2 separate regions of the Homo sapiens genome follow, and region 1 is linked to region 2. The links are contacts of gene promoters, found by promoter capture Hi-C in human tissues and cell types (Jung and others, 2019). All regions are on one chromosome and are shown on one strand. The core of a region is centred on a gene start or on the middle of the fragment in contact, and the rest is flanking DNA. Distances in the headings are between cores, read along the strand shown. Region 1 has its middle 55 kb from the start of CCDC81. Region 2 holds the start of CCDC81 (coiled-coil domain containing 81).

Region 1 (3,869 bases), core at 475-2,974, 55 kb after region 2:
CTTCTTTAAATGTTTGGTAGAATTCAGCAGTGAAGCCATCTGTTCCTGGGCTTTTCTTTGGTGAGATACTTTGTATTAATGATTCAATTTCCTCACTCATTATTGGTTTGCTCAGATTTTCTATTTCTTCATGATTCAGTCTTGGCAGGTTGTATGTGTGTAGGAATATATCCATTTCTTCTAGGTAATTCAAGTTTTTGGCATATAATTGTTCATAATAGTCTCTCATGATCCATTGTACTTCTGTGTTGTCAACTGTAATGATTTCTTTATTTCTGATTTTACTTGGGTCTTTTCTCTTTTTCTTTTCTTGGTTAGTCTAGCTAAAGGCTGTTTGATTTTATCTTTTCAAAATATGAACTTTTAGTTTCTTTTGTATTTTTTTTTAATCTCCAGAGCAGAAATAAAATAGAGATTAGATTATTTCTGGTCTGATCTTTATTATCTCTTTCCTTCAACTAACTTGGGCTTAGGGTTTTAAAGAAATTTCCTAGAGGTGTAACTTTTAGTTATTTGTAATTTTCTTTCTTGGTGCAGGCATTTATTGCTATAAACTTTCCTCTTAGAACTGCTTTTGCTGCATTCCATAAAGTTTGGTATGTTGTGTGTTCCTTTTTTTTTGTCTCAAGATACTTCTAGATTTCCCTTTTAATTTCTTCACTGGCACGCTGATTGTTCATGAGCATATTTAATTTCCATGTATTTGTGAATCTTCCAAAATTCCTCCTGTTAATGATTTCCAGTTTCATACCATTGTGAAACCTCTGGTTTAACAAGGTAAAAGCTAGAAAACCCCTGTATAACAAGGTAAAAACCTAATATTATTGTGCATTGGTTGTTAGAAGAACAAGGTAGATTCCTTCTGGTAAGTTTACCATGGCACAGAGAGGGAAAGCTTTTTGAGGAGATGAAGCCCAAGCTGAATTTTAATGACCAACGGGAAAAAGCCAGGTGAAGAGAAGAAGGGGTCATGACAACAGATGTCAAGGCTGTGTGCTCCAGTCTATCAAGACTGAGATGGAGGCATGGTTATATGAATTATATAGATATGAGGTCTAATATGTTTTCTATCATTCAACCATTTTAAGAATCAAACTTTATTATAGTCCTTCACTAAACAGCTGATTTCTGAGCAAGTCTTCATAATTTGGATCTTCTTCAATGATCCTCATTGTTAACTATTATTCTTGTATTAGTCTAACTCTGTAATTAGCCCCGACTTGCTATCATCAAGTTCTGTCTTTTCCAGAAATACAGCACAGCCAGACCAGATTAATGTATCAAAGGTTTCCCTATTTCAGTGGTTTTCAATGTTTTGGACAGTCATGGACTCTTCTAAGAATCTGATGAAAAATATATACTCTTCTTCTAAAAACAGGTATATATTCCTATACAACATTTTGCATGCAGTTAGAAGTTTCCTAGAACCCCTGGACCACAGGCCAAGAATCCCTGTTCTAGATAGCTTTCCTTCACCATTTTTACAGGCTTAGGCTATCAAAAGTAAAGGATTTAATTTGCTTTTGAAAATTCCCTTTCACTTTTCTTTTTTGTTTTTTTCCCTAAAATTCTGTTACTTTGCCTTCATTTTTACATAGTTTTTCTGAGTACACAATTCTATACTGACATTTTGTCTCAGTCCTCTGAAGATATTCTTATTCTCAGGTTTCTTCTCTAACAGCTGTTACAATTTTCTAAAATGTCTAGACTTTGCTTCCTGACCTTCACATGGCCCCTTGCAATAAAGCCCTATTTCTTCTTTCCTTCAAAGGGCTGAGAGAAAATGTCAGTGAAGAATTGTGTACCCAGCAAAACTTTTAACAATGAAGGGAAAATAAAAGAATTTTAGAAAAAAGCCAAAAAAGAAACCTGAAGAAAAAAACAAAATACAGTTTACTAATATTAAGGGAAATGGATTCAACAGTGAGAGATTTTCTAGCATATATAAAACATTTATCAACGTATCGATACCCAAAGGAATCTCCAAAAAAATGCTTCTGGATAAAAGAAAGTAACCTCAGAAAGAATGGAGCTCCAAGAAGGAATAGTGAGCAAAGAAACTGATAACATGAATAAATGTAAACAAACATTGATTTGTACAAACAATAATGTCCAATTTGTGGCGTTAAAAGATTAAGATGCTTGACGACATTAATAGTTAAAGCATGCTGAATTCCTTCAAGAGGCAGGAAAAGATTCTGAACCATGTTTGACTTTTTCTAAGTTAGTTAAGCACTAAAAGAACAGAAACAGGGTATATAATAGACCATCTGTATTAGAGAGGGAGACTCCACAGCCAAAATCGCGGGATTCAAATCTTAGCCCTTGCAAAATTACCTCTTGGGTACTATGCTCACTATCTGAGTGACAGAATTATCATTCATACTCTGGGTCACGCAATATACCCATGTAACAAATGTGCACGTGAACCCCCTAAATCTATAATAAAAGTTAAAATTATTTTTTAAAAAAGTCTCATCTCTGCCATTTACTAGCTGTGTGACCTTGGGCAAATTACCGTTCTGTGCTTAGGTTTTTAAAGTCAGGACAGTAGAAATGACACTAGTATCTAATTCATAGGGGTTTTGTATTACATTTATATAAAGCTTTGAACAGTGCTTACCCTAAAATAAGTGCTAAGGAAGTATTAGCCCCAATGAAAACTTCCAAAAGAGTAGAGGGAAAATCGTAATCCAAAAGAGGTCAAGAAAAGGTAAAAAATATAGAAATATGGGTCAAATAGCATAAAATAAGAGGGCAAAAATGCATACGTGCACTTTTTCAGCTAAAAAAGTCTGTCAGACTGGACTGATGCGGAAAAAAAGCTCCATATATTATGTTGTTCCCAAGAGACATACTTAAACATGAAGCAGGTAGAAAAAGATACACTAGTCAGAGTCAATGGCTGGGAAACCTTTCGCTACCTTACCTGTCTTCCTTCAGTTTCTCTCCAGCCTCTTCCAGGCTTCCTATCCCACCACCCCCACGTCGCTCCTCAGCCCCTCTCCTCTCTAGTGGGAGACAAGGAAACTCAGCATTCATCCAGCGTTCCTTCGCCTCAGCAAGGGGCTCCCGTCGGCGGCGGCCGTGATGACGTCCTCATTGGTCCGCCCAACCACGATTGGTGAAGGGGTTCCTGCGTCGCGCGCAGTCTAGGAAAGAGACGACTTGGGACGCAACGACACCTGCGCGTGTGCGTATTGCCTCAGTGGAGGCGCTCCGCTGGTCCTCCTAGAGTTTGGTGCCCTGCCGCCGCTGCCCCGCCACGACTGCGGCTGCGGCTGCTCCGGGCAGTGCTGCGGCCGCCGCGGGCCCAGCTGTATGGTTAGGCCACCATCGTTCGTGAGTAAACATATTCCTTTCTGTGGTGTTCTTGATAATGCATTTATAGAGTTTCTAAAGGGCCCTGGAGATTACTGCCAGGTTCAGCACGAACTTTATGAGGACAAGTGAATGGTGGAAAGTCATTACTGCCCCACCAAGAAGCCCCCACAGAGCGGGTCACCTGGACACAGAAGTGTAGAATTGAGATCATTAGAGCATTTTACAAGAGTTCTGACCTAGATGGGGTAACCCTTGGTGCACTTCCTTTCCATTGGCCCAGAATTACTGAATTGAAGAACCGCAGCTTCTTGTTGGTAGGTTCATTTCATTTCCTGTCACTACCAACTTCATATTCAAAGCTCTGTGAATTTCAAGTGGAGTATATTGGCGTAGACTTCAGTTTCTTGACATCATTTCTGTATTCAAAAATTTTTAATTTTTTTCGTAACCATATCAGTTTTTTTTTTTTTTAACTAAATTAACATGGCTCCAATGAATCACCCAGCTCCAGTGGAAGTCACATACGGGAACATGAGATTTCTTAT
Region 2 (4,213 bases), core at 379-2,878:
ACTCTTGAAATGTATTCCAATGTATGTATTCACAATTTAACCAGTTCCCTATGATGGTCATCTTAGGCTAATTCTAAGAATTAACATTATAAACAATGTTGCATATACATATATCTTTGTATGTATCATGCTAATACATCCAATTTTATATCCAAATATATCCAAATTTGTAGCAGTGGAAGTACATAGTTTGCCTGAGTTTTAATAGCAACTGAAAAGTATGTATTTTCAGGATATATAATATTTATAGCTCATTAAAAGTTTCTAGTCAACACAGGGTTACATGTATCTACACAGCCTCTTTTGTCAAGAGACCTTTGACAAAAGGAAAGTAAAACCTTGGAAGAAAAGTCTTTGTCCTTATTCTTTTTACAGCTTCCTTTAGCCATCTACAATTCACTAATAATTAGCATCCACCACCATCTTCTGGAACTGAAGACAGCTTTTCTAGAGATTAAAAGTACCACTATATTTAATTCAAAATCTAATGTATTGTAAAACAATTATTTTTATAATTCCATTATCTTAATGTGGAACAATAATGCTGATATTGCCACTAAAAATTAGCTGGCATTATCTATTAAAATTGATCATATGCATTTCTCATGACCCATGAATCTACTCCTAGTTATATACACATCAGAAATGAGTACATCTATCTGTCAAAAGTGTTCTGTGAGACTGTTTGCAGCAGCCTTATTCCCAGTAGCCTCAAAGGGAAACAACGCAAATGCCCTTCAACAGTGGAATGCATAAATTGTGCCATACTCATAAAAAGGAATAATATGCAACAGTGTAAATGAAGAAATTATTACCATAGAAACTATGGATGAACCTCATAAACATAATGTGAATTTGAATAGAGCCAGACAGAAAAGGATACATACTATATGATTCCAAAGATTCAACAGGCAAAATGAATCTGCAGTATGTGTTGGCTAATGACTGGAGGGGTAATGAAGTGCTGATCTGTGCAATGTGCTAGCATTCTATTTTTTGACCTGGATGGGTTTTGCATAGGTATGTTCAGCTTGTGATAATTACCAGCAGAGGGGAGAGCATGCACGCAATTCTTCAGGATGAGATTGGTGACATGTAGAGAAAAGGGGGAAATGACTGTAGTTTAAAAAAAGTCAATTCCCTCCTCCCCACTTCTCCAGCTCTCCATTTCCTAGGAAGAGAGCCCAGGGAAAAGCAAACCAAGAAACAAATTCCAGCTCAAACTCAAACTCTCAAACAGATCTGGAGACTCAAATATCGATCTCTCTGGGCAAAAGGCATTCCTAGATTTGTCCAAGGTACAAAAACTACCACTCTAACCACGTTTCTTCGCTGCCCGGGGTCAGAGAAGTAAAAACCCATTATTTATTTATTTTTAAGTTACTTCCAACCTCGCTGCCTCGAGCTTCTGAATCGCCTGGGCAACCTGGAAGCCGCCCATCTAAGGGGGTGAGGTCGAATCCCAGCCTTGACGCCTTAGCAACCGAGCGAGCCTTTCTCGCGTCCCAGCAACGCGCCCTTCCCTCTGCCGGGCCTATTCTCCCTGGTGCCCCTCCCTTCCTCGAGGCTGCAGCTCACCCCTCATTGGGTCTCTCGTTGGTCAGGAGGGCGCGGGTCTGCACACTCTCACTCGGTGCCGGACATCAGTTCCTGCGGCTCTTGCTGTGGGAGCTGCCCGAGAGCCAGAGCAGTGGGGAGGGACGGCGAGAACCAATGTTTAAGTTTATTTAAGAAAGAAGAAAAAGAGTCAAGAAGTTCAAGATTTTCGTCACTCTTATTTTTAAGGCACATCCAAAGCTCCGTGGAGAAGGGGCTGGAGGGTGGGAAAATTATTTTTGTGCACATTCCATATAAGAAAGAAGAGACCCATCGAACATTCAGTACGGAGTCACCTGGAAATTGGAGATGTTGGATACGATCGCCCGTGCCCTGCAGGACCTGGGCAGGCAGGTGCTGCCCACTCTGCCCTCGCTGAGCCAGGAGGGTAAGCGTGTTGGGTAGCAGGGGGTGGCCCTGGGGATTGAATCTTCATCTGCTTGCAGGGGAGGCGGGGGGACCCACTTCCCAATTCCCTGGCTCAGGCCTGGCCTGCCGTGGCTAAGTTGCCTTGACAACCAGCTGGTAATCACATCCTGCCCACGTTGGACGCCCAGAGACCCTTTTCTGGTTTTGATTAAACCAGGGGATGCGTAGACAGCACAAAGTAAGTGCTCAATAAACGGACTAGCACAAAGTAAGTGCTCAATAAAGGTTAGGTAAAAACAGCCACTCCCACACCACTCGCTGGGATGGATCACAACCCTTTTGCCTACCTAGAGAAAAGAGATGCAGGGACCCTAAATGGCTCCTTTTGAGAGTTCATGCAAAGACGGTTGATTTTGTTGCCTTTGACATCATGCCGTTGTATTAAGAAAATGAGATGATCATAAAAAGCTACAGGGTAAGTACTTTGGAAGGGGACCTGGCACCTTCTCAGAGAAAACTCATTAGGCTTGGTTAGTAGCAAGACAAGATCTGTTTTTAGCATCGTTTGTAGAAGAGTCACCCCAAAGTGAGGCTGAGATCTGTCTGCAAACCACAGGAGAAGAGAGGTGCTGCAGGAATGCAAACTCATTATTATCAAACCATTGTAACTTAGAGATGTTGCTTAGGCTTTAACCAAATGACCGCAGAAAACAAATAGGAATGGCTGCTTCTTTCTCTTCCCCTGCATCACTCCTATCTTTTCCTCTCAAATCATCCTGAAAGATGCATTGAAGATAATGGCTTAATGAATTTAAAAACATTTGCTATATTTGTAAATTTATGTATAGTCATTCAAGGAATTCTGAAACCCTGCTATATGCTGAGCACTAGTTAACTTACGGTGAACAAACATCTTGGAATTTACTGTTTAGTGGGGAAGATGCACATTAATCAAATAATCACACAAATCAATGCAAATTTACAATTTAGGTAAATGATACCAGGGAGGAGGTAAATGGTACAGTAAGAACTTTTTTTAAAGATGATTTTTTAGGGTAGTTGTAGATTCACAGTAAATTAAGAAGGAGGGACAATATATTAGTTTATTTGTACACTGCTATGAAGATACTATCCCAGACTGGGTCATTATAAAGGAAAGAGGTTTAATTGACTCACAGTTCTTCATGGCTGGGGGAGCCCTCAGGAAACTTAAAATCATGGCAGAAGGGGAAGCAGGCATGTCTTACATGACGGCAGGAGAGAGAGAGAGAGAGAAGCCCGGGGGACCAGGGGAAACTGCCATTTATAAAACTCTCAGATCTTGTGAGAAATCCCTCACCATCATGAGAACAGCATGGGGGAAACTGCTCCCAGGATCCAATCCCCTCCCACCAGGCCTCTCCCTCAACACCTAGGGATTACAATTCAAGATGAGATTTGGGTGGGGAAACAAAGCCTAACCATATCAGACAGAGATGTCCCACATACTGTCTAATCCTACACTTGGATAGACTCTCCCATTGTCAACATCCCTCACCGGAGTGGTACATGTGTTACAATTGAACCTACATTGACACATCAAAATCACCCAAGTTTCATAGTTTACATTAGAGTTCTTTCTTGGTGTTGTACATTTTATGAGTTTGGACAAATGTAAAATGACATGTATCTATCATTATAGTCATATAGAGTATTTCACTCCCCTTTGTTCTGCCTATTCACCCCTACCCCTAATCCCAAAATCTGGAAACCACTGATCTTTCCACGGTCTTCATAGTTTTGCCAGTTCCAGAATGTAATATAGTTGGAATCATATAGTTTAAGCCTTTTCAGATTGGCTTCTTTCACTTAGCAATATGCATTTAATATTCCTCCATGTCTTTTTGTGGCTTGATAGCTCATTTCTTTTTAGTTCTGAATAATATTCCATTATCTAGATGTACCACAGGTTTTTTTTTTTTAATCTGTCCACCCACTGAAAAATGTCTTGGTTGCTTCCAAGTTTTGGCAATTATGAATAAAGCTGTTTTAAATATCTGTGTGCAGGTTTTAAAAAACTGGATATAAGTTTTCAATTCACTTGGGTAAATACCCAGGGACATAATCGCTAGATTGTATGGTAAGAGGATGTTTAGTTTTGTGAGAAACTGCCAGACTGTCTTCCAAAGGGGCTGTACTATGTTGCATTCCCAAGAGCGATGAATGAGAATTCTTGTCACTCCATGTTATTGTCAGCATTTGTTGTTGT

What was found. Contacts are between HindIII fragments. The study calls those that stand out against the background at their distance.
Region 1: a contact is called between a fragment that was not itself captured here and the fragment with the promoter of CCDC81 in region 2, in 1 of the 25 tissues and cell types used here (aorta).

What each region holds. Positions count from the first base shown.
Region 1 is chr11:86,428,292-86,432,160 of GRCh38, forward strand. It overlaps the pseudogene PTP4A1P6. Among named protein-coding and RNA genes, the nearest start is that of CCDC81, 55 kb to the left of the region's middle. The HindIII fragment of the contact is 3,825 bases long and covers 1-3,637 here.
Region 2 is chr11:86,373,259-86,377,471 of GRCh38, forward strand. CCDC81 (coiled-coil domain containing 81) reads left to right here and starts at 1,629. Exons shown (of 15, transcript NM_001156474.2): 1 at 1,629-1,984. The coding sequence starts at 1,906. The region is part of intron 2 of LOC105369421 (a long non-coding RNA gene); the gene reads right to left. RefSeq lists a silencer at 1,369-1,663. The HindIII fragment of the contact is 17,191 bases long and covers 1-4,213 here.